7 separate regions of the Homo sapiens genome follow, and all the other regions are linked to region 1. The links are contacts of gene promoters, found by promoter capture Hi-C in blood cells and fetal thymus (Javierre and others, 2016). All regions are on one chromosome and are shown on one strand. The core of a region is centred on a gene start or on the middle of the fragment in contact, and the rest is flanking DNA. Distances in the headings are between cores, read along the strand shown. Region 1 holds the start of CAVIN3 (caveolae associated protein 3). Region 2 has its middle 33 kb from the start of OR56A1. Region 3 holds the start of OR56A5 (olfactory receptor family 56 subfamily A member 5). Region 4 has its middle 16 kb from the start of OR56A1. Region 5 has its middle 2.9 kb from the start of OR52L1. Region 6 holds the start of OR56A4 (olfactory receptor family 56 subfamily A member 4). Region 7 holds the start of OR56A1 (olfactory receptor family 56 subfamily A member 1).

Evidence for each region. Contacts are between HindIII fragments. The CHiCAGO score rates a contact against its expected background, and 5 or more counts as called.
Region 2: a contact is called between a fragment that was not itself captured here and the fragment with the promoter of CAVIN3 in region 1, in 1 of 17 cell types (monocytes). The highest score is 5.1, in monocytes.
Region 3: a fragment that was not itself captured here is called in contact with the fragment with the promoter of CAVIN3 in region 1 in 1 of 17 cell types (neutrophils); the score reaches 5.2 in neutrophils.
Region 4: a fragment that was not itself captured here is called in contact with the fragment with the promoter of CAVIN3 in region 1 in 4 of 17 cell types (monocytes, M2 macrophages, neutrophils and 1 more); the score reaches 8.1 in monocytes.
Region 5: a fragment that was not itself captured here is called in contact with the fragment with the promoter of CAVIN3 in region 1 in 8 of 17 cell types (M2 macrophages, M1 macrophages, monocytes and 5 more); the score reaches 17.2 in M2 macrophages.
Region 6: a fragment that was not itself captured here is called in contact with the fragment with the promoter of CAVIN3 in region 1 in 6 of 17 cell types (monocytes, neutrophils, M2 macrophages and 3 more); the score reaches 11.6 in monocytes.
Region 7: a contact is called between a fragment that was not itself captured here and the fragment with the promoter of CAVIN3 in region 1, in 15 of 17 cell types (monocytes, M2 macrophages, M0 macrophages and 12 more). The highest score is 30.1, in monocytes.

The regions. Positions count from the first base shown.
Region 1 is chr11:6,319,251-6,323,001 of GRCh38, forward strand. It overlaps CAVIN3 (caveolae associated protein 3), which reads right to left and starts at 1,251. Exons shown (of 2, transcript NM_145040.3): 1 at 843-1,251; 2 at 1-314. The coding sequence starts at 1,226. It overlaps LOC101927825 (a long non-coding RNA gene), which reads left to right. Exons shown (of 7, transcript XR_930998.4): 1 at 1-447. RefSeq lists enhancers at 1-664, 1,208-1,257, 1,468-1,827, 1,838-1,897, 1,928-2,017. The HindIII fragment of the contact is 4,344 bases long and covers 1-1,979 here.
Region 2 is chr11:6,062,031-6,065,469 of GRCh38, forward strand. No RefSeq gene overlaps it. Among named protein-coding and RNA genes, the nearest start is that of OR56A1, 33 kb to the left of the region's middle. The HindIII fragment of the contact is 7,475 bases long and covers 1-3,439 here.
Region 3 is chr11:5,965,298-5,968,900 of GRCh38, forward strand. OR56A5 (olfactory receptor family 56 subfamily A member 5) reads right to left here and starts at 3,197. Exons shown (of 1, transcript NM_001146033.1): 1 at 2,256-3,197. The coding sequence starts at 3,197. The coding sequence ends at 2,256. It also overlaps a transcript of OR56A3 not described here. The HindIII fragment of the contact is 6,933 bases long and covers 1-3,603 here.
Region 4 is chr11:6,045,421-6,048,862 of GRCh38, forward strand. It overlaps the pseudogene OR56A7P. Among named protein-coding and RNA genes, the nearest start is that of OR56A1, 16 kb to the left of the region's middle. The HindIII fragment of the contact is 5,472 bases long and covers 1-3,442 here.
Region 5 is chr11:5,988,002-5,991,703 of GRCh38, forward strand. It overlaps a transcript of OR56A3 not described here. Among named protein-coding and RNA genes, the nearest start is that of OR52L1, 2.9 kb to the left of the region's middle. The HindIII fragment of the contact is 3,457 bases long and covers 102-3,558 here.
Region 6 is chr11:6,005,959-6,009,771 of GRCh38, forward strand. It overlaps OR56A4 (olfactory receptor family 56 subfamily A member 4), which reads right to left and starts at 988. Exons shown (of 3, transcript NM_001005179.4): 1 at 960-988; 2 at 291-445. It also overlaps a transcript of OR56A3 not described here. The HindIII fragment of the contact is 8,491 bases long and covers 1-3,813 here.
Region 7 is chr11:6,028,928-6,032,624 of GRCh38, forward strand. It overlaps OR56A1 (olfactory receptor family 56 subfamily A member 1), which reads right to left and starts at 1,831. Exons shown (of 2, transcript NM_001388488.1): 1 at 1,775-1,831. The region is part of intron 1 of LOC107984303 (a long non-coding RNA gene); the gene reads left to right. The HindIII fragment of the contact is 1,300 bases long and covers 814-2,113 here.

The DNA.
Region 1 (3,751 bases), core at 1-2,500:
TCCAGCGTGGGCTCCAGCGCAGGCTGGGCTTCCGGCTGGGCTTCAGCGCTCCGGCCAGGCCCAAGGCGAGGCGGCTTGACCGGGGTGGGCGGTGGCGCTGCAGGGCCTTTCCGGCCCGAAAGGGCCCTTCGGAGGCTCTGTACCTTCTGCAATCCGGTGCGCCGCAGCCGCTGGGCCCTGGACTCCACCGGCTCCTCGTCCGAGCTCTCTCCAACTTCGGCCTCCAGCTGCTCTGGGCCCAGCTCGGACTGGTCCGCCGGGCCCAAGGGCTCTGGTGCCTTCTGGAAAGCGCTGGCTGGGACTTCACCCTCCTCCTGCATGTGACGGACACAGCACTGATCCTGGCAGCTCCTTACCCCCAGCAGCCCGAAACTCACTCCTTAATTACACAAGGGAAACCTTTTACCTCCGCAGCCAGAGTCTGGGGGGAAAGGCAGGCGTGGGAAGGTAAGGGGAGGGAAAGCTGCGTGCGAACTGCAAAACGCTGTAAAGTAGGTGAGGCCTGGTGAGGGGCGAGAAGAGGATAGTGCCCGCAGTCACGGAATGCCCTTTCAACCACCGTTATTTTAGGGATTGGCTGGGACTCAGACCAAATTCTGCGGACGTGGCCTGAGCTAGAGCTGGGCGGGCTTGGATTGGCCAGGCGGGGCTCAGGCGTGAGAGGGAGGGATGGGGCTGGGTCTTGGGAAGTGGGTGCGGCTCTGTGAGTCTGTTCCACAGCAACAGACGGCGGGAGGGGTCAGGAATGTGGGTGTGGTAGGTGGATGGAAGCGGGGAGCCCCCAGCTGGTGGCCCACAGGCCGGCAAAGGCCTCGGATTGGGGACCGTTTGAGGTCACTGACCTTGAAGAGCAGAACGTGGAGCTTCCCGCGCGCCACCAGCAGCCCGTGGTTGGCCTCCAGCCGCTGCACCTGGGCTGCGCGGCGCACCGCGCGCTCTTGGGCGGCGTTGGCGTGCGAGCTCACGCGCTCCGCCTTGGCCAGCAGCTGCGCCAAGGTGTTGCTGGTGGTGTCGTGGCTGCGACTCAGAGCGCCCAGGCCGCTCTGGATGCGGCGCACGGACCCTGCCAGGCCTCCCTGCCTTCGAGCCAGGCCTCCCTGCCGCTCCCGCAGAGTCTCCAGCATGGAGGCCAGCTTCTCCAGCAGGGTCACCACCGTCACGGCGTGCACGGGACCCCCCGCCGGCGCCTCGGGCACAGGCCCCCGCTCCAACGCACTCTCCCTCATGATCCCTGACCGCTCTGCTCCGTCTGCCTGCAACTGCTGGCCGCACTACGGTCAGGGGCCTCCTTTCCCTGGCTCCTCCCCAGCTCCAGCTGTGACTCAGGCAGGCGGAGTTGGCCTTCTGGGGCGGCGGGAGGGCGCGAGGGCGTGGGGATGTTGGCAGCGGGGTCTCTTGAAAGCGTTTCGCCTTCCGCTGTCCCGCGCCGGGGGCCTGCTGGGAAGCCTGTTGGCCCCAAATCGGCCCCCTGCAAACCCTCTCACTCTGAGTTTGAGTTACCCTCCTCCGCTCCAATTCCCTGGTGTGCCTGTTTCAGTTCTCCACTGCAAAGGGCGAGTCACGGAAATTTTTATTTCATGCATCTTAGTGGGCGCAGAGACTGTGTTGGCACGGCAAAGAGATAACCAGAGGGGCCTCCGTCGCCGTCCACTTTCGGCCTCCCACACCAGTGAAGATTGCCCCCAGGCTGGATGCAGGCGACAGGGAGGCCCTGGAACATTCTGCTTACAGATCGCGAACTGTCAAGGCCCGAGGCCCCGCTTTGTGACTTGGACAGGCTGCTCATTGTGGGCTGGCGGGCGGGGCATCCTCTGGTGTTTTCCTAATAGTCATCTCCAGGGTTTAGCCTCAGGCTTCGTTTCCTGCTTCTTTATTTCGTCCTCTTGGGTAGCATTATCTGGTTTCTTTTCTCTAGTTTTCTGCCCTCTCTTTCTTTGGGTTTCACTGGTAAATCTCAGCCGCCCCGGCCCCAGCACCCAAGCTTGGAGGATAAGCAGGACACCTTCACCTCTTTTAAAATCCTTAAAAGCGTTAGACTAGGCACTGGTCTTTGCTTTGATAGAGGTTACTTGGGCTCCTGCCTGACTTTTTTTGCTTGTTTGTTTGTTTCTTGTGTTCTGTGGAACTGCGGAGAGTAAAGATTTGAAATTGCTGCTGCAGAGAGGGAGAGAGTGGGCATGGAGGATCCAGTTAATGATGTGGATTGTGAATTTCTAATGTCAGCAGTTCGAAACATCCCATGCCTTAGCCGGGCGCGGTGGCTCATGCTTGTAATCCCACCACTTTGGGAGGCCGAGGGGGGAGGATCACGTGAGGCAGGGAGTTCCAGACCAGCCTGGGCAACATGGCAAAACCCCGTCTCTACTAAAAATACAAAAATTAGCAGGGCGTTGTGACACACGCCTGTAATCCCAGCTACTCGGGAGGGCTGAGGCAGAAGAATCGTTTGAACCTGGGAGGCAGAGAATGCAGTAAACCAAGATTGCTCCACTGCACTACAGCCTGGAGGACAGAGCAAGACTCCATCTCAAAAAAAAAAGAAAAGAAAAAAGAAAATCCCGTGCCTTGTTTGTAGCAATACTTGGCAAACCGTCTCACAAATGCAAGTAATCCATTAATCCTGATGATCTCTCTCCCTCTTCCTCTTCTCACTGAACCTGTGAGGGCCACTTGTTGACAACTGTGGAAGAAACTTGTGTCACTCTGGAAATAGTTACATGGGCCTGAAGTGCCACAGACGTGGGCAGCTAATGCCAGAAATCTGGTGATGCTAAGCTGATGGCTGATTTCTACAAATACAAGGCCATAAGCCTGACCCCTGCTGCTTAATACAAGAGAAAATAAGCTCTCTTGGGAATCTGGTGGGAATCACCATCTCTTCCAGTGAAACTACATTTACCCAGAGAGATCCATCAGGGATGTACCAGTTAAAATGCTTTCAGACTGAGGGAACAAAAACTCAATTCAAACAGTACTTAGTAACAGGAAACTCAATTCAAACATAATTGAAAAAGAGGATTGGTAGAGTGGTGATTAAGTGTGAGTCATTCACAGCTCCAAATCTGGTTTTCTACAGTTCTCTCCACTGCTCAACTATGAGCCCCATCCCGCACCTCTCACACTCCCCCATGTCCCCCACACACCCCCTACCCATGTGTATGTGCCCACATACGCACAGGTGTCAGCTTCATTCCAGGCCTCACAACTCTGCACAAGATCTTAAAAAAAAAAGGGGACCATCTTAAAATTTAGGACATTTATTTCCCAGAAGCCTCCCAGAATTTTTACACTTGCCTTCCACTGGGTTACATGGCTTTTCCAAATCCAAATTCTATGGCTACAAAAATGACATGCATTGATGGGTTTAGGCCTATGTTCCCTAAACAATCACTGACAAGAAATCTAATAATTGGCTTTTGACAAGTTAGATCAATTCTGAAGTAGAGTAGATTCAGCTTCCCCAGGAGTATTAGGGTGGTATGGGAGGAAAAGTGGATATCTGTACAAAAATCTGGGTACTACTGGGAATGGATATTAATATTACAGGAAGCCTATGAAAGAATCACCAGCTTTGATGAGTGGGGCTAAGGAAATTCAGTGCATTTGGAAGTAAGAAGTACTTGCATAGATACTTGGATAGATTTGGATAGATTTTTTTTTTTTTTCCTGAGACCAAGTCTCGCTCTGTCACCCAGGCTGGAGTGCAAACGCGCGATCTTGGCTCACTGCAACCTCCGCCTCCCAGGTTCAA
Region 2 (3,439 bases), core at 212-2,711, 260 kb before region 1:
CAGCAGCACAAAGAAAACTAGGAAAGGGAGAAAATTCCCAGATTCAGGAAGGTTCTGTTATAGCCCTCCCTGCTCATCTCCAGGAACACCCTGAGTCCTCTGTTCAACCTCCACAATGGTCTTCTGCCTTAGCTTATGTGTAACAATGATAAAGAGGACTTTCTCTTCAGAAGGGCTGCACAGCAGTCTCTGAATGCCAAAGAGGACATCAAATGCATCCCTCGAGGTCTGTACAGCTAAAGTTTCCCAAAGATATGAAACATGAGTACTAGCTTTGGCAACACATGGGTAAACTGTATCTACATGCATGATATTTGATGGTGAGGATGCCACCTAGGACCATGCTAAATGGTCCTGTGAATGCCTCAGGCTGATCATGAAGGCTTAAAGAGATTGGTAGGCACCTGTAGGCACACAAGTTAACTTGCAGCAATGAGCCGTCCCCTAATCTCTCTCCATCTGTATTCTTTCTTATCTTTCTTTTTTTCCCACTGTCATAGAGTCCAGGCCACTGTTAAGAAGGAGATTAAGGATAGAGAAATAGGTCACATTTCACAGAAGAGCCTCCCTTCCCACTAGCATCTAAATGGTAGAAACTAGGAGAGGCTTCATTTTGAGAAGTCAGGCCCGGAGAGAGCAACTACTTTAACTCAGGGGGAAATAAAGACTACGAAGAAGTGTCAGACCAGACGTATTGGGAAACTCAGAGTCACACTAGCCAAGCCAAAAAATAACCTCTGTCACAGGGAAAATGAGAAGGGCAGGAGTCAGCTGGCTGTAGTCTTCCCCCACCATGAGCCCCAAAACTGACCTCATTTTTCACACCTGAATTTCTGTGCACCAGGGGTCGCTGGTTCTGTCATCGTCACCCTGAAAGGAAGGTCATTCTTGATACCTTACCAAGGCAGTGATGGTGACTGTGAGCAAGGCACTGGGCAGGCAGGATGTTATTACCAACTGGCAGGTCCCAGAGCTCTCACAGACACACCTGGGCAAAGCCAAAAGTAGCCCCTAGATTGACTAGAGGAACACAGAGCTAAAGTTACAGCCCACAGGGATGGGTGATTGGACAGAGAGGCCAAGCAGGGAGAGTGACTCCTGCACCTAACCAGGTGGCCCATATCTGTTCAGCGTTGTTCATTACCCCTAAGCCTGTACATCCTGTTGGTGATAGGAAACCTTGTGCAGTGAGCTGGGAAATTTCACATTGCTCTGTGAGCTCAGACTTCTCATTCTCACAGAACAATCTTAGACCCCAGGAAATGCTTTAGTGAATGCTGTGGCTCAATGTGCTTATTCCTCCAGGTGCAGGTAGTGTTGGCTTCTGGAAGCTGATAACTAAGTCACTCTCCTTTGGCTAAAGAGAGCAGTCTCGCCTAAGATTACTTTTCCTTCCCCAAGCAGCTCATAGCCAATGACTGGTGATATAAGAATACAAAGTCCTGGCCCCCTTTCTTCATCTTAAACAACACTGAGGAGTCATTCTAACTCATGAGGTCCTATTTGATTAGCTAAGTCACCTGAGACAACTCGATCATAGTTTAATTTCTTCTTCAGCCCCTCTCACTCCATGACAGTTTAATTTCACTCCTCTCACTCCATGACAGTCATTGTTACCATATATATGTCACAATAAACTTCCTGCATGCAAATCTCTGCTCCAGAGTCTGTTTCTGGGGAAGCCAACCTAAGACAAATGCTGCCAGCCTCAGGTTGAGTTGAGCACTTTGCTTCTCCTCTATAGGATAGTGACAAACCCAAGGGCCTCAAACCCATTGCCATGGTACATGTGGGATAAATAGGGCTCCTCCAACAGTCCCTCCAAGGAAGTTCCCAATGAGATGGGCTGAGGCTTCCTTTATCATATTTTCCCATCATAAATAGACCCTTCTGTTAGTTCCATCTCTGATTGAAGCAGCTTCCCACTCTACCCAGTGGCCATATTCTCCTTGGGAACAATGCCTCAAGTGCACAGTCCTTCCATTCATCCAGTCAACAAGTATCTCATTCACAGCTTGTGGGGAGCCCTATTTATTCATTTATTCAATAAATATTAAATATATACTAATTCCATGTACTCTGCTAGATTTTGGAAAAAACAAACGATATGATAAAATGGTTCTCATGGGTCTTGGGATGATATATGTTAAGTATATGATCATAGAATTAATTACAGTTATAAGTGTTATATATTAAAACTATAATGTTTTAAAAGCATATAATAGAAGGACCTCCCCAGTATGGGGACTTCAGGAAAGCCCTCCCTAATTTAAGTTAGTGACCAGAAGACTTGGTTAAAGTGAAGGGCAATATGGAGATAGGGTGCGTACACAAAACATGAGCAGAAGAAAAAGGACTCTGGTAATTTCAAAGACCTGAAAGAATTTTTAAAATTAGAGATTGTAGTACTCAGGACTGAGCCTGGAGTGCAAGCAGGAACCCGAGCATACTGGGTCTTTTGGGCCATGTTAAAGGGCCATGGAAATCATGAAGGATTTTAAGCAGAGGATTGAGATATGATTAACATCTCATTAACAAAATGACATCTTAGGAAAATGGAGAGGCCAAGGCTAAGCATAGATGGCAGGAGATCTTTGGGGAAGAAAATTCAGTGATCTCTACAGAGGTTTAAGGATGTGTCATGAGAATGGGTAGATGAGGTAGGTATCTTTGGGAATAAAGAAATTGAGAATATGAAAAGCCAGAGTGTTCAATGGATTATCCACATAAATACTGATGTCTCCCACCAGGGTCATGGGTGGCAAAATAAAAACAGAGAAGATGTGGACCATGTCATCATTTAATGAAGGCGAGTAGAGGAGAGATAACAGTAACCAGAAGTGATAGAGGATGATATGAGTGAGTGACATGAACCTCAAAGAAGCACCAGTCTTTGCTTATTTGTTTGTTTGTTTGCTTTTACAGGAAAGAACTGAAAATTGTATTTGAGAACAAAGACACTAAACTTACCACCATGCCAAAAGTAGAAGAGATATGAGAAACTAAATGATCCCCACTTAGTAGGAAGCATAATATTGCATCAGAAATAAAATGGGAATAATTATAGCACCTGCTTTATTTGCATTTTGTGACCAATAAATGAAAGAGTGTATCTGCAAAGTTTTTACTTCAAGAACTCAAGGTACCATGTAGTAAGAGCTGAACACACAGGAGCTGCCTTTGTTATCAAGATTTCTCACTAATACAGCATATTCAAGATAGAATTCTTCAGAGCTAGTTTGCCCAGAGCACTTAGAGACCTCTAAGCCCTTATAGCAGTGATTCTGTCTTATAATAGTAACTATGCCCCCCAATGCCCCTGCACAGCATCCAAAATACCGCCATTTGAAACTACAACTTTTGCAAAGACTATTGAGGTTAAGGTGATGTTTGAAGTGATGATGGTAGTAAAGAAAATAGTGTTAGTAGTTATTGTTAC
Region 3 (3,603 bases), core at 1,082-3,581, 350 kb before region 1:
AATAGTAAGGGGATAATTAATTATTACTCTTCTTAAATGAGAAAATTAGAACTCATATTGAGATTGGTGAGTCAAAAGTAACACATCTTACCCGTGGCCAAATCAGTATGCCTGGAACATAAATAAAAATCAGTGTTATCCCAATAAGCAGGCTTAGGTTCTATGGTAGGTAAGATTGCATTGAACTGTGAGTTATATAAGGCTTTTTGTAAGTATCTTTGGAGAATACATTATATTAATAATTTGATTCTTTCCCTAAGAAGGGAAAATAAGAAAAAAATAAGAAGATGTGCACACATAATATTCACTTTTATTCATCAAAATAACTAAATATGTAAAGCATTATATTAAAGCTCTAGAATATACAAAGTTGAAGAGATGAATAAAACTCTTCACCAGACTCAGAGGAGTTTATAATCTACTACCAAAGGGAGATACACACATGACTCAAGAAGGTCAGATTAATTCCATTGGGGTAAATAAAGGATGGGTTTGTGGAGTAGGTGGAGTTTAAACTGAGACTCATAAGATGGGCATAATTTTCCAAATGAAAAGAGTGGTGTTGTTTTTTATGTGGAAGAGGATACTGGAACACAGACTTTAAGAAAAACATATAGGAGGGACATAATGTTAAAAAAAATGAGCTGGGAGCTGACCTGCATGATAGGTAAACAGAAGAGTGAAAAATTTTGTATTTTGATTAGGATCAGTCTTTGAAGTTGAGAAGGAGGGAAGATAGAAATCAAAACTATTGTTTTGGTGAAAGACAATACTATAGAAATAATAAATTGGGCCAGTCGTGGTGACTCACACCTGTAATCACAGCACTTTGGGAGGCTGAGGCAGGTGGATCGCTTGAGCCCAGGAGTTCAAGACCAACCTCAGCAACATGGTGAAACCCCGTCTCTACAAAAAAAAAAAAAAAAAAAAACCGGGCATGGTGGTGCACACCTGTAGTCCCAGCTACTTGGGAGGCTGAGGTGGGAGAATCACTTAAGCCTGGGAGACAGAGGTTGCAGTGAGCCAAGATCATGGCACTGAACTCCAGCCTGGGCGATAGAGTAAGACCCTGTCTCCCTATCTCAAAAAAAGAAACAAGAAAAGAAAAGATAAACTGACTTATAAGTCTTCCAAGAATAATTTGATTATCATAGATTAGGAGACATTCCGAAATGATTCAAAAATAATATCTATGAAGTGCTCTATTACTAACCAAAAAGGGGCCTAGCTACTAAATGTTACTTAATCCCAGGAAATATTGGTCAGTATATAGGTCCTACCTATATACTGATCAGAGCATGATCAGGATAAAAATTGCAAAGTGTAAAACATACTTATCCTTGTTCTAAAAACTCACTAATTCAGATGTCTGGATCCTATGGGAAGCTATGCTGGCCAGGGACAGGACATGAAGATTGAGACAAGAGGACTGAAAGTAGGATGAGAAAGACGGTTTAACTGTATATCTAAGACAAATAGGAAAGAGTAGGAATAAGATGGTGTCAGAAATCTGATGGAAAAGTCAGGTAGGATAGTATGAAGTCAGAAGTTGGTAAAATATATCTTAAAAAAGGACACACAGATTCACTTAAAGCAACACACACACACACACACACACACACACATAAATATGAGTCATTTTAAGATGTAAAAATCACTAGGAAAAAAAACTATAAGAAATTCACACTCCAAATAAGTAGCATTAGATAAAAATATTAACAAGATCTGTCAAGGACAGAGGAGGCAGTGAATGTCACATGTTATTCACTCTACATAAGAATCAAAGTTCTTGAGTCAACATCTATATGTCCACAAGAGATCCATTCATGGCAAAAAAAAAAAAAATTATTCACGTTGAGCTGAGTCAGGGAAAACCAAGACATCTAACACATATGTATGTATTAAACAATACAGGAATTGAGAAACATTTAAAATAATTGGAATTATATTTATCCTTTGTTTGAAAACCATACAATTCTAAGCTCCAGTGATTATGGCTTGTCAATTCGTACTCACATAGATGAAGTCAAGAAAAACTTCCAAACAATTCTAGAATGCCAAAACACTAAGATTCCAGTCAGTGAAACAGAAAGCAGGATCCAACGAGTAGATATCCCTATAATCAATTGAAACACTGAAGAAAGCCAAGTCTAAACTTATTCTCGCAGTAACAATTTAAATTTTCTATGCATCATAACAATTATTCTCCAATATCAATTTCTGTTTTCAAGGTCAGGTTGCATTCATTTTATTTTTTACAACCTCCTCAGCAGGTTCTGGATTCCCTGCTTGATCTCCTTGGTTCTCACACCATAAACAATGGGGTTCAGAGCTGGGGGAATAAGGTGGTGCAGGATGTTGAGCAGGATGGGGACATCCGGAGGAATTCTCTTCCTGGCCAGGTTAGTGATGACCAGAACCAGCAGGACTGTGGTGAAGAAGAGGATGAGGATGAAGTGGGAACCACAAGTACCTAGAGCTTTGGCCATATCTCCCTCACCCTTAATCCTTAGCACAGTTTTCAAGATAAAAAAGTAAGAGAGAACAATAAGGATGAGGTCAGAGCCCAGCAGGGTCCAACCTATAACAAACTGGTAGCTCTGATTCAAGGTGATGTCATCACAAGAGAGTTTAGACACAGACACGTTAGTACAGATGCAGTTCTTGATGATGTGTCCTGCACAGTATCTGAGTCGAGAAGAAAGTATGGGGATAGGCATAGTAAGAAGGCCATTCCTGGCCACAACAAAGATGGCAGCCCTAGCGACAAATTGATCAGTGATGATGGATGAGTACTGTAGGGGCTTGCAGATGGCCACATAGCGGTCATAGGCCATGATCATGAATGTGCAGGACTCCATAGTCAGAAAACTGTTCATGATGAACACCTGAAGGAAGCAGGCAGGGAAGCTGATTGATCTGAGGTCAAACCAGAAGATGGCCAGGACCTTGGGGATGACGGTGAGGCAGAGTACGATGTCCAGCAGGGAGAGGAGGCTGAGCAGGTAGTACAGGGGCTGGTGCAGAGAGGCTTCCAGATAGATGGTGATCAGAAGGGTGGCATTGGCCCCCATGGCCAGGAGGAAGAGGAGGCTGAGGGGCAGAGACAGCCAGTGCTGCCAGCTCTGGAAACTGGGGAAACAAATGAGGAAGAATTCAAAGACTGGGGAAGTGGAGTTGTTGCTGGGTAATGTCATGAAATAAATCCTCAGCTGAGAAAATTTCACCTGAAATTGTGTTTGATAAGACACAGGAATTAGAAATAGAAAACAAAGCTGTTAAAATATTTGCTAACATTTTCTAATTTATAAAATGTATGAGATACAGATGACCAATCCCAAATGAAGGCAAAGTTTAGTAAATATTAACATAAATAGTGAAAGGTTTAGTAAATTATTTCTGAAGTTAATTTAGAAAAGCAAATAGACTAGACAAAGGTTTAGAAGGAAAATGATTTAAAAAAACCTCATTAAAACATACTGTAAAATACAAAAAAAATTCCAAATTATACTGACAAAGCAAATTGAATAATTATAGATCCACAGGCTAGAAACACTCATAAGTTTACAGAGTAATCTAGAATTAATAAATATGTCATAAAAT
Region 4 (3,442 bases), core at 143-2,642, 270 kb before region 1:
GCAGAACCAGGGCTTCAATGGTGTCTGAGGAATTGATGCCCCACCACTCATCAGATGTGACCTTTGTCAGTATTTCTCCCTAAACTTGTGTTTTCTAATATATAAAGTGGAATAATAATCCTACCCTGCAGAATTTTTGTGAGGATGAGATTGTTCAAATATGTAAATATCTAAACACAAAGTTAAATCTCTAAGAATGTTAGTTACATGAGCTAGGCAAATGAATTTATGTCAGGTACTAAGGAGCCCTCACTAATTCCTGATACTGGAGAGAGAGAAATGGGTAGGAAATACTCAGTATTTAAGCATTAGTTTATTTTCTGGAATCACAGCTTCTGAAATAGAAACAGTAATAGGTGCTTCTATGGAGAGTCCCTTCCGTGTTTTCAAAGGCCCCTCTGCAGCAACTTCTAAAATTCCTTCTTTAACTCTTTAGTTTGAAATCCACATATGATAGGGTTTAATGCAGGAGGACTAAAGGGATGAAGGACATTAAACAGGATCAGGATGTCCATGGGGACCTTCTTTCTGGCCACATTTGTCAACACCACAACCAGCAGGTGCTGAAGAAGAGGATGAGGATAAAGTGGGAGCCACATGTGCTCAGGGCCTTCACTGCCACCCCCTCCACCTTGAATCTAAGCACAGCTCTTAGAATGAAGGTGTAGGAGAGGAAGATGAGGATGAAATCCGAGCCCAGGAAGGTCCAACCAGCCACAAATTGGTAGAGTCTGTTAAGGGTGAAATTATCACAGGAGAGCCTGGACACAGACAGGTTGGCACAGATGCAGTTCTCAATCACATTTTTCCTACAGTAATGGAGCTGGGCAGAGAGAATAGGAACAGGTGAAAGCAGCAAAGCATTCTGCACCACAATGAAGACACTAGCTTTGGCCACAAATTGATGAGTGATGATGGACAGGTACTGCAGTGGGTGGCAGATGGCCACATAATGATCATAGTCCTTGACCATGAATGTGCAGGACTCCATGGGGAGGAAACTGTTCATGATGAACATCTGAAGGAAGCAGGCAGGGAAGCCGATCGACCTAAGATCAAACCAGAAGATGGCCAGGACCTTGGGGATGACGGTGAGGCAGAGCACGATGTCCAGCAGGGAGAGGAGGCTGGGCAGGTAGTACAGGGGCAGGTGCAGAGAGGCCTCCAGGTGGATGGTGATGGGGGGGGTGGGTGTTGGTCCCCATGGCCAGGAGGAAAGGAGGCTGAGGGGCAGGGACAGCAAGTGCTGCCAACTCTGAAAGTTGGGGAAGCAGATGAGGAGGAATTCAGAGACTGGGACAGTGGAGTCATCGCTGGGTAATGTCATGAAATAAATTCTCAGTTGAGAAAATTTCACCTGGATTTTTGTATGATAAGACACATGAATTAGGTCAATGGAAAACAAAGTTGTCAAAATATTTGCTAACACTTTCTCATCCAGAAAATTGATGAGATACTGATAGGAGATATAGATGAGAAATGGAAAAATGTATGATATACTCCCAATCCTATTATAAAGTAGAAGAAAATTAAGTTAAACACTGATTAAATATAAAAGAGAATCACTCAAACCTCTGTCATTCTGACTTCCTGTACTGCTGACACAACTCATCCTGGACATACTTAATCCAAGCCTGCACAAGTGCAATTCATTGTTTCTATAGAAAGTTAGGCTCAAAGACAGGCTCTTCTCATTAAAATGTGTAACTGCCAACCTCAAATGAGTACTTAATATACATATTACATACTCATCACAATAATCTTCTCTGGTTAATTCATTCCTCAACCCATTTCAAGCAACTTTTCAAATTTTCAAAGTTCTTTTGAAATACAAAATCTCCTCCTCTCTCAGATAACTCTCTAACCACTTCATAAAGACAGCAGAAACATCAGATGCAAGTCCTCTACTTCCCAAGATAGATTCATAAACCCATCAACATCTACATCCTTGATCTCTTCATTACATCAGTAGAATCAAGGATCTATCCCTCCTCCAAATAGCTATCCTTGACCTCACATTTGGATGCTATCTACCTTGACCTTAGGAACCTTGACTTACGAATCATCCTGCCCATTCCCTATGTATTAAACTTCTCCTAAATCCTTCCCATAAATATTCAAAATGTCCAAGTCTTTCATATCCTAATTATTTTCTTTATCTGTCCCCCATCTCCATTTAGTATAAAAACCATGATTTTATTTTGGGGGGAAATATACTAAATCTCTTTCTTCTTCTTTCACACCCAAACTTAAGGGTCCAAAAGAGGCAAAGGACATCTAAAAGGGGACAAGTGACTGTTGGCTTCAGTAGTCCAACTGAGAAGTGATCAGTGAGTGAATAAATGGCTCTGAGATGGCTCTGAAGATGAGGGAAAGGGGCATATCTTAGAGGTATAAATATGACAGACAGCGATTAGACTACTTGTATAGAAGAAAAGAGGGTAGGATTCTAAAACTGCACTGTCCAATCTGACTTAAATGACTAAGTAAATTTCACAAGACAAAAAAATAGGCTTTGAAAAGATTTGATGTATGTTGCAGAGGTAGAAATTATAGAACCAATTTTGATATGTTCAGCTTATTGGGTGTATAAACTATCACAATATATATGACATTTAATGTTGTAGAAAGTAGTTTGATTTCATGTGAAAGCTCAAAGATAGAGAATTGGAAATCATCAGCACATCATGTATAATTCAAACTATAGAACTGAATAAATTACTTAAGGGAAAAATGTAAATTTAAAATAAAACATGATAATGAAATTCTATGAAACACCTACCCTTAATCTTAGGACCAGAAGAGGTAAAGAGATTGCAAGGAAACTGAAAAGGAATGAACAGAGACATAATTGAAAATCCAATGGAGTGGACAGACATGCTCACATAAAGAATTTCAGCAATGTGAGAAAGAGATTATCCATTGCATTTGGCAATTAGGTAATCATTGGTGATCCTAGCAAACAGTTTCATGTGAAGAGAGAAACAGATGCGGGAGGACAATGAGACAGCAGGCCTGGAGTGAACAAACACAGGGAGGACTGATCACCTTGTCAGAGATTCTTTACTTCAGCAAACAGCTTCACACGAAGGGAAAACTGAATGCACAGGTAGAAGTGCCTATGTTAAAAAGAGGATTGTGTTGATTTTTTTTAAATAAAAGAAATTTGAATATGTTTAAGGGGCTAAAGACTGTAGAAAGAAAAATATAAATGATAAAAAGAAAGATAATTAAAGGACCAGCCCTTGGGGAAACAACTACTGTTACTACTTCATACAGTATAAAACACGTCACTGGCCTTTCTCCTCATCTCTTTCCCCAATCCACTATAAAATCACTAAAGTACATGTGATATATTTTCCATCTTTTTATCCCATGCTGTGTTTACAGTACCTAGCACTCAATAATTTTTTTTTTTTTGAGACAAAGTCTCACTCTGTCA
Region 5 (3,702 bases), core at 580-3,079, 330 kb before region 1:
AAAAGTTATCTTTTTTGCATTACTTTTGTCTTACAGTTGATATATTTCTACATATGTTTTACTAACCATCCCTGCATTCTTGGAGTTACATGTACACACCAAGCTTACCTATGCCTTTTGTGTAGTCTGTCTCCAAATTCCTTTATCTGAATTGGTCCTTCAAAATTCAAAGTCCACTGTCACCCCTCAAAAGGACTCATTGCCTATGTCAGATGAATATTGATTATGTTCAGAGCACTTTATAATCTTCCTTTATTCATCCATAACTTTCTGACTTATCTCTAGAAATTCTATCAGTGTCTTAATGGTTTGTTTTTTTAAAGAAACATATCTTATTATACTTTATAATTATAACATAGCATGGTGAACATTTCACAATGTAGTGAGATAAATAAAAGCAATGGAGGAAGACAGACTTAGTTTAAATTTTGTCCATTTCATATTCTAGGAATAAAACCTTGGCAGGATACTAAAACTCTCTCAGTCTTGATTTCCTTATTTTATAACTAACATCAATCTTACAGGTTTATTGTAAACATTAATTAAGTAATATATGTAAAGTCTTGATATCTAGATTAGTCTACAAATTATAGTTATAATTATTTTAATATTAGCAATAGAAGATGACTGAGAATTAGACCACAGGCTTCTTTCTTTTCTTCTTTGTCTCCATGACTCTGCTTCTCTTTTTCAAACTTTTGATATGTTTACCTCTCATCATGATATTATAACAAACAATTCAGTGTCTTTGACAACCGCATGTTAACATGAAGTATCAACTTTGTCCATGGGATTCACCCTTGAAATTTACTAAAAGAAAAAACTTGAAACTGGATATGTGTATGTAGGTATGTTTGTCTTAAAGGACAGGCGTAGTCTGAAATAACTGTATTTTTCTCTGTTGGAGTGGTGGTGCACATGTGCGTGTAAAGATTAAAAAGTCAAGAATGACTTAGTTCTTGTGGATAATGCATCCATAGATTACTCAGAGCTCTTTTTGTACAAATTAATGATGACAATCATATTGCCCTAAAACTCTGAATATGATAGCTATAAAGTCTGAAATGCCACGTGGGCATATATCTCCCAAGTTTCTCTGTTTTTCTTCTAGAATCAACTTGAAATAACAATGACATTTTTATTGAGACATCCAGGGGAATCTCATAATCTTACAAAAATTCACCTCTCAGTGCTTAACATTCCACATAGAGAGAAAGTCCATTGTCTTTTTTGCCTACCTCCTTCTGTTGCACGCTTCAGCCCATTTCTCATTTTTTAGCTAAGGAGTCAGAGAACAGCTGTGCATTTGTGGAAGGCACTCAAGACTTGAATAGTAGCAGTGTGAGCAGAGCAGTGAGGCTAAAACCAAACTAGCCCTGGGGCTGCTGAAATAAGTAAATAAATAAGTAGAGAAGTAAATAAAGTAAATAAAGTAAGAAGTAAGTAAATAAAGCAGAGAAGTAAATTAAGTAAACAAATAAGCGGAAAAGCAGAGACACATGTAACTGAGTATAACCGGCTTCTACTTTGTGTTGCTTGGCTCGTAAGCCTAGGGTAAAAGTCTGCAAGTGCTTAGTAAATGTTAATTTTTTAACTTATTTTAATTTAATTTCTGACTCAGAGTAGGGGAGGGTGGGAGGTGGATAAGGCATAAAAAAATCCCATATTGGGCACAATGTACACTATTCAGATAATAGGTACACTAAAAAGCCCAGACTTCATCACTATACAATTCATCCATGTAACCAAAACCACTTATACTCTTAAAGCTCTTGAATTTTTTAAATAAATTGCAATTAATTGTTATTAAAGTAAACAGGAGGTCCCGCTATGATTCTTAGAGGAAAAGCAGAAAGGACTTTATTCCCAGGAACCTAAAGGCAAAGCTGTATTTAGTTATTCAACTACAAAGCAGAGGACAATTACCAAAGAGTAGATGTTGTTCAATTGGTACTTATTCATCTAATTCAACCCAAGCAACCTTTCTTTTGTGAAGTTGTGCTCAAATTCTGTAAGGTAGTATGACATGTCTCCTTTTCTTTCCTATTGTAATGCCTTTACCACTTTGTCCCTGCATTAAGACCTCACACTCTAAGCCAGGCATCATGTCAGTCTTTAAAGAGCAGGGACTCTGCATTACTTATTTCAGCAGCCCCAGAGCAAGCTCCAGGAGCATCCGGAATCTAGTGAGTAATCAGTAATGTTGGCTGAATAAGTAAACACTCATATTATTAGATTAAAAAATAAATAAGTGCACTAGTGTCTTAAAAGACTGAGAATCACAGGAAGGTGATAAGGCAGAGGCTAAATTTAAGCATAGGAATCATGTAGCAAACAGTGGCGTGTCTTTTGAGGGTGTCACTGATTGAGCCTCGATATTCCTCACCTTAAGTGATGCTCTGGGTGCTTCATGGCAGAAAGAGATCTGCTGAATCTCTGCCATAAGAGAAGATGGTGAAATCCTGGATGTGTTCAGAAATAAGAGGGTTTCTTTGGTCCCTAGTAATCACTCTGCACTGCTTCTAGCAGGAAGAGAGGCTCCATCTATGGGATATAATCTATCCCTCTCTCCTCAATCTCCTTCTTAACAGTGGCCTGATCTCTATGATAATAGGGTAAAAAAGAAGAGGCAAGAACTTACAGAAACAGTAGGGGAGGGAGGGCACAGAAAGAGTGGGTCCATGACAATGACCTAATAAAAGACGAAGATACAAAAATCAAACATTAAGAGGCAGAGCTCCACTCACAACATGGATAATAAAGTAAGCCTGGCACAGGGCACTGTCCTTCTGGTCTCTGGGCTGTCTTTGATGATGTGCCCTTTAAAGACTCAGGTCAGCCTGGAGGGAGACTGCAACACAGAGAGAACTAGGAAAGGGAGAAAATTCTCAGACTCTGGAAGGTCTGGGAATTTTCATGAAGAGTTTTCTGGAAAATTCAAGAAGGTTCCACTACAGCCCTCCCTGCTTAGCCCCAGGAACTCCCTAAGTCTCCAGTTCAATCTCCATGATGAAATTCTGCCCTAGCTTGTGGGGAACAATGATGAAGAGGATTTTCTATTCAGAATGGCTGCACAGCAGTCTCTGAATATCAAAGAGGACATCAAATGCATCCCTCAAGGTCTATGCAGCTAAAATTTTCCAAAGATATGAAACATGAGTACTAGCTCTGGCAAGACTTGAGTAAAGGTAGCAAATCAGCTGTATCTACATACGCAATACATATGGTGAGGATGCCACCTAGGACCATGCCAAATGGCCCTGTGAATGCCTCAGGCTGACCATGAAGGGTTAAAGACATTGGTAGGTGTCCACAGGCTCACAGGTTAGCTCTCAGCCCTCCCCTAATCATTTTCCATCTATATTCTTTTCTCTCCCTTTCCCCCACTGTCATAGAGTCCAGGCCACTGTTAACAAGGAGATTAAAGAGAGAGGGACAGGTCACATTTCATAGAAGAGCCTCCATGTCCACTAGCATCTAAATGGTAGAAGCCAGGAGGAGAAAGTTTGTTTGAGGAGTCAGGCCAGGAGAGAACAACTATTCTAACTCAGAGAAATAAGCTTAAGACTACTAAGAAGTGTCAGACCAGAGGTATTGGGAGAGCCACACTACACAAGCTGAGAAATAACCCCTGTCACAAGGGCTCTGAGAAGGGCAGAATTCAGCTGGCCATAGTCTTCCCCCAACTGTAAACCCAGAAAC
Region 6 (3,813 bases), core at 510-3,009, 310 kb before region 1:
AGGTAGGGAGGCTTTTTGGAGAGTCCCAAATAGTTCAAAGGAAAAGTGATTAAGATCTGAACAAAAGTAATAACCATGTAAATGGAGAAGAAAGAGTAATTTTGAGGGGTGAGGAGGGCTACAAGAAAATTCAGTGTAAGAAAGATTAAGGAGACAGAGAAAGGCTGCAGTCAGGAATGCCTCCCAGATTTTTTAACGAATACAGGAAGACATATGTTCTTTTGGACTTCCAGTAGCACTGATAGATTCTTCCAGGTAATAATATATTTTCAGCCTTGTTTCATAGTTACCTTGTAATTCCTTAATAGCTGGAATGATTTTTCCTCCCTCTGAATTTTCCTTAGTGAAATTGAGGCCTCCTAATCTGAGAAATGAAGAATTGTTGACCATCTGGGGCATTGTTTTCGATCTTCAGTATGCCAACTCCATCAGTTCATACCCTAGACTGATATTCACAAAGGAGTGGTCATTGTGGTTATTCATTCTAGGTGTCAATGAGCAAAACATGGTATCTGACCATGAGTCATTAACAGTCTGGAAAAGTCAGACAGATTCTGAACTAACCAAAATGGCAATGGAAGATTTGAGCCCAGCTATGATTGCCTAGAAGAAGCAGTCACCTAGGTTCATAGATGAATGTAGGGAAGAAAGGAAGATTATGACCTAGCTAGGCACAGAGCCTTGACCTCATAGCTATGATATAGTTAGGAGTCTTTGAGCCTACAGAAGTTTTCAGTCTACAAGCCATGAAATGACTTAGCCTCAGCTCTGAAGGAAATCACAGCCATAGGTCAGTAATGCTTGTACCAGAACCTAAGTACTGTGGCAAGGTTGTCATCTACTACACTAGGCCTTATTGAAAGAGTTCTATATCCTTTTCACACCAGGCTCCTGGATTCCCCCTCCACTCATCAGCATCCTCTTCCTCATAATTTCCTTGGCCCCACCTTGAGACTCACCAAATTCAGAAGGCTGTACTGCTGCTATTTCTTGCTGTTTTCTACAGGAGCTGCAGAGGCTGATTTTATGGACCCTGACTCCACTAGTCCCTTCCCTCCACACTACTCACAAGAGTTAGTGCCATTATTAGGCACCTGGATCCTGGGGCCCTATGGTCCATGTCCCAGGAGAGTATGTTGTGAAAGGTGTTCAGCATTGGGAGTAGAGTGAGGGTGAAAGAGTTCAAAGGCACTTGGGAAGTCTAATTAACAAAAATGGCATTCATCTAGGTAAAATAAGCCAGACACAGAAAGAAAAATATTGCATAATTTCACATCATGTGTGAAACCTTAAAAAGTCAAATTCACAGAAGCAAAGAGTAGATTGGTGGTTACCAAGGGGCAGGGAGAGAAGGAAATGGAGAGATGTTTGTCAAAGGATATAAAATTTCTGTTACAAGTATGAATAAGTTCTAGAGATCTAATGTGAAGTGTGGGGATGGGAATAATATTTTATCATATGGTTAAAATTTGCTAAGACAATAGATCTTAAGACTTGCCACCACAAGAAAAGGTAACGATGTAAAGCAATGGATGTGCTAATTAGTGTGACTGTAGTATTCAGTGTGATGCACTCTATGTGTATCAAAACATCACTTTTTACACTTTATATATAATTTTATTTTAAAAATAAGAAAGGAAAGATAGGAAGAAAGGAGGGAAGAGAAAGAAAAAGAAAAAGAAATCCTAGAAAAAAAAAGTGTAAGGAAACTGAGTGATGGGAATTCTTTCAGGATAATTTCTCTGAATACACCAGTAAGGAAGAAACTGAATCAGGCTATCCTCAGCACTGTAACTCTAGAGGGAAGTACTAGAGGAACATTCCCACCAATGAAAGGAGCATGGACCGTGGCCAGTTGAGGGGAGCAGAGAGTGCTTTTCCTGTGAACCTTTCTCATGCAGTGGGAGTATCAGTGGTCTGGACCCCAGAGATCCCTGGGAGTGGCCCTCTTCATGCTCATGGTGTCATGTCCAAGATTTTATCTTCATGGCTTTTCTTTGTCTAAACTTTTTGTTTCGTAAGTGTGGTTTCGGACAATGCAATTGTTAACAATACTCACTTTCCATAGAGCAATGCCTGGCATTGCTTCCTTGAAAAAACAAATGGAATGGTCACCAGAACAGTCACCACTCATGCACAATAGGACCTAGAATATAGGCTCTCCTGAAGAATATTCAGGATCATGTGGGCTTTGGGCATAAGAATCTTAGAGAGAGAAGAACAAGTCTTTTTCTAGGACTCATGGTTTCCTCCCCACAACTTCTGAGAAGGAGACATTAGGGCAAAAATGTAGATGGAATATAATCCCACTCCTTACATACAGTAACTCTGGCCGCATCTCTATCTTGCTATGTAGGTGTCTGAGGTAAAGCTCCAAGGACAATGGAAGCATCAAATAAAGTTAGTAGACATGCTAAATGAAGAAAACTATTTCATGAGTGAATAATTGCTCAAGGAAATGTATATTGCTAAGAGCATGCAGTTTAAACTGTGCAAAATATTCTTATCCTCAGAATTTCTTATAAATAAATAATTCCTCTCCACTCTCAGATCATGGGAAGGTTGGGAAGAGAAAATGTGATGCTTTTGTTCGAATGCTTGTTTTACCACTTTCTGGCCGCTTCTACTTGGGCAATGTTAGAGACTCTCAGAACCACAATTTCCTCATCTGAAATATGAGGATAATGAACCTTTCAATACATGGTAGTTGCGAGGATAAAATTCAATTTATTTTTTCATTTAACAAACATTAATCTTGACTCTATAATTTACTAAGCCCTATACTACATGTTATAAATGCAGTACAACAAAGAATCATTCCTGCCATCTTAGAGGGAGACCAAAATGTAACATATAATTACACCAAGGATTGTATTATCCTGTATTTATATCCTGTATATATCCTGTATGTATTTATCATAATAAATCTTCATTGAGATATTAATGGGTCATGTTATTCTGATTATTACCTGTTATTTCATCTAATCCGAATATTAACCAAATGAGAGATATATTATTATAATCCACAATTTACTGATGTAGAATCTAAGTAATGCATGTTGTGAGTTGAATTGTACCCCTAATGAAGATATGTTGAAGTCCTAACCCCTAGCATCTGTTAATGTAATCTTATTTGGAAACAGGGTCTTTGCAGATGTAATAAACTTAAAAGTCACCAGTTAACACAAAGACTGATACATTTCCAGTTCAACCACATCCTGAGAGTATTTACCAAGATCCCATCAGACTCTGCCGTTGATTTTTCTTTCCTCATGCCAGGAAATTGCCAAATTTTTGCTCCATTTCATACTGGTTTCTTCTAGATTGGCAAAAGTCTTCAGAACAAATGAAGCTGTAAATCCAGGGTTTCTCTCTCTCAGTTTTTAACTGCTCCAAAATTTTGATTTTTCCTTCTTAACTCTTCAGTGCTTTTACAAATATGTTTATGTTTGATTAATTCAAGCAGCTTTTATAGTGATGATTTAGCTGGATAAAAATCTGATTATTGACAAGTATTTTACATGTGTATTCAAATTTAATATATTCAATTCAATATATTTCAATTTATTTGAGTTACACACACATACGTGTGAGCACATGCACACACACACACATAATACATTATATATTTCCACAGACTTCTGATGTCTATTGCTGTTAAGAATTGCATTGTCTGTCAAATTGCCGCTCCTCTATAGGTAATGTACTATTTATCCGGCTCTATTCAGAACTTTTTGTCTTTGGGGTTTTGGATGTTAGTAAATGAGTCTAGATTTATTTTAAAAGTTATTCTCTTTATGATTAATTAAGCTC
Region 7 (3,697 bases), core at 214-2,713, 290 kb before region 1:
ACACACAATGGAATACTACTCAGCTATTAAGAAGAATGAAATCATGTCTTTTGCAGCAACGTAGATAGAACTGGAGGCCATTATCTTAAATGAAACAAGCCAGACACAAAAAGACAAATATTGCATGTTCTCACTCATAAGTATGTGTTCAAAATGTGTACATATAGATGTAGAGAGTGAAATGATTGACAATGGAGACTCAGAAGGGTGAGGCGGGTGAGAGGGGGTGGATAATGAGAAATTACTTAATGAGAATAATGTACATCATTCAGGTGATGGATACCCTAAAAGCCCTGACTTAACTACTATACAATCTATGCATGGAACAAAATTGCACTTTGATCCTATAAATTTATATAAAATTTTGTAAGACTTATAAATAATGTGTATATACTCTCATCCTTTTCTTGTTTCCTTTCATTAAAATAAATAATCTGTCCATCTTCAAGAATTGATCCCATCTCTCCCAGCTTTGAATTCTGGCTCTTTCTCTAACTCTCCCCTTCCCTTCATGCACAAACCTCTCACAAGCATTTACACTCACTGTCTCCATTCCCTCACCTTACATCCATTCCACAACTCACTTCAATTTGGCTTCCATCTCCATTAGTTCCACAAAATAGCTCTCAGAAATCACCTACAGCTTCCCTATTGTTAAATCTTGTTGAAACAGTTGATCAAATCCTCTTCCTTGAAACACTCTCTTTGGCCTAATTCATATATCACAGACTTCTAGTTTACCTTGTACCTCCTGGTCACTCCCTCTCATTTTCTCGAACACATCCATCATCCACTACCTTGACGTCAGTTTAAAGCTTCAGTCCTACATTTTCTTCGCTTTTCTTCTTTCCTCTCTGATATTCTGTTTTCCCTTCTTCCACTTCTTTTATCTTGTCTATGTCATTAGACAATTACCATCTCTATTACTAAATTACTGAATTATGTTTCTTACTTAGACCTCTCCAGAAGCCTACTTTATGTATCAACCTGGGTTTCCCAAAGATATTCAAAGCTCACCAAGTCCAAAATTTAAAAACCTGGTCTTTTGCCAGCATCTCAGTGACTGGTGTAAATATTTGTCAGTTTTAGAAGCCAGCGCCCAGAAAATGTCTTGAACATTTATTCTACCCATTGAAAATGATACGAAGTACATGATGAAACCACTAAGACATGTCATTTTCCCTTTTAATTAGCCCTGGAATCCATCCACTTCTCCATATCCACTCTCACCATCCAAGTACTATTACCTCGAGTAAAAAGTAAATATTGCCTCCTAATGCAGTCTAGGTTTCTTTATAAACCATTCTCTACATTGAAATCAAGGAAATGTTTTTAAATATAAATATTACCAGTCATCTGATTAAAATATTTCAGTGGCTTCTCATTGCTAATATTATAAAAAGGAAATTTTTTACTTGAACTTCATGAGACCATAAGTTCATGAGGGAAGAAACCATGTGTGGTTTTTCTTTTATCATCACTATATAAACAGGGTATAGATAGATTGCTAGGTACACATAGTTAACTGACTACATTATGAAAGGAAGGAAGGAAGGAAAAGGAAGGAGGAAGGGAGGGAGGGGAGGAAGGAAAGCAGGCAATGCCATATATTATCTACCTCCTTCCTCATTTTCCAGTTCCATCTAACACCCCATCTCCCTTGCTCCCTGAGCTTCAGCCACACCGTCCTTTCAGATCTTCGAACGTTACATGAGCTTTCTGATCCCACTTCTCTTGGAAGGCTGTGCATCTTATGCTTCTACACAACACTTACTTTCTCCTCATCCTTTACATCTCAATTCAAATACTCTCTTCTCTGAGAGGTTTGTTCTAACCCCCTTTACACAAGATCAAGTCCTCCTATTTTATGTTTCTGTAGTACTTTGAACCATCCTCATCATCTGTAGTTATACATTTATATGATAAGTTGCTTACATACTCCTTCTTCCAATGCCCAATTAGACATTTCATGCCATGAAAATAACATCAATTAGCCCAGTGCTTGACATGAAATGGCTAAAAATATTTGTAGAGTGAGTTAATTAGACATATGAGCAGAATAATAGGAAGGCACAAAGGAAAATTTCTGAACTCAACCCTAGAGGAAAAGAGAAGCTTTCCTAAAGCTGCTAACAACTTAGCTGAGTTTTATTTCAATAGATGTGGAGGATTTACATGCATTAAATCTGTGTAGTGTATTGAAGATATAAAAAATGGATTATGTGAAAGCATGGAGATGAGTCTGAGAATAACTTTGGAAGGAAATTCTATGCAATATTTAATCTGACTGGAGCCAAAAGGATGAGGAGTTGAAAGAAAGAGCCAAAAATGGAGTTGATAAAAGAAAAAGCCAGATCTTAAGTACATTTTCTATGCTGAAGATTTTAGAACTAGTCATATGGATGAAAAGAAATGGAAAAAAATATTTCCATTAGAAGAGAGACATGACCAGATTTAGGGTACGTACAGAAAGATCACTCTGGACACATTATTATGCATGAACTTGGGTAAGGCAAGAGAGCAGAAATAGAAAGAATGGCGGCCGCAATAGCCAAGGTGAGAAGTGACGTGCAACTGAACAAAGGCTGAGGCACTGAGGATGGGAAGAAGGTGAATCTTCCAGAAGTCATATAGACAGAACTTATTGACAGATTTGTTTTAAAGGAGAAAATAGGTGAGAAGCCCAGAGTGACCCCCGGTTTACTAGCTTGAGTAAATAAGTTGCATCACCAAGATGTAAAATACAGCTAAATGAGTAAGATTAGTGTGTACTGGGATATGTCAAGAACGAGGTGTTTATAATCGCCACACATAGATTTGTTTTCGGCTGTTTCAAACTGAAGAGTTTGAGAAAATTAGAAGGATCGTAGTTTAGGACATAAATTCAGAAAGCATTAGAACATAGCCTGTAGAGTTGGAATAGCACAAGGCTAAGATTGGAACCCTAGAAAATAGTAACATTGAAGGGGTGGAAAAAGAAAAGGGAGACATAAATGGAAGGGCTAGAAAGGTATAAAGAAAATCTTAAGAATAAGATGCCCCAGAAAAAACCAAGGGGAAAATTTCAAGAAGGGTTTTACTAACTTGTTAGTCAAGTAGAAGTTCAATAACATAAGGACAGTGAATATTCATTAAATATTATAATAAGGGTGTGTCATTGGTAACCTGGCCAAGAGAGATTCATTTGACTGGTAGCAACAGAAACCAGAATGAAGGGAGCTGGAGAACTAGTAAGTGAGGAAGTGTAGATGGGGAAAGTTGACTGTGTAGCTAAAGTCCATTTCAAACTTATAATAGAAGAAAAAGCAAGGCGGAAATGAAAGATACTGTGGTATGTTTATATGTTCAGGGAAAGAGTAAATATTCAGAAGGAAAGTAAGATAATTGAGGTAGCTACTTCACTGAGGAAGCCACTTCTACTATTAATAAATTTTATCTGTAAACCTTAGCATGTTGTTTTTGTACCTCTCTATCTCCCTCCACTCTGCTGTGAAATAGAGGGCAGATAAAGGGTACTTTTCCATTTGTACATACTACATTCTCTAACACCCCATAGATTCTTAATAAAAGCCCACTGAAAAATATTTTGGCATTACTGGCCCTGGTGTTTAACATAGATAGAAAATTTTAAGGAGGAAGAATGAGAAAGGAGAATTAACCACAGTTTCAGTGGGCTGAGGGGCAGTTCTGATCAGTG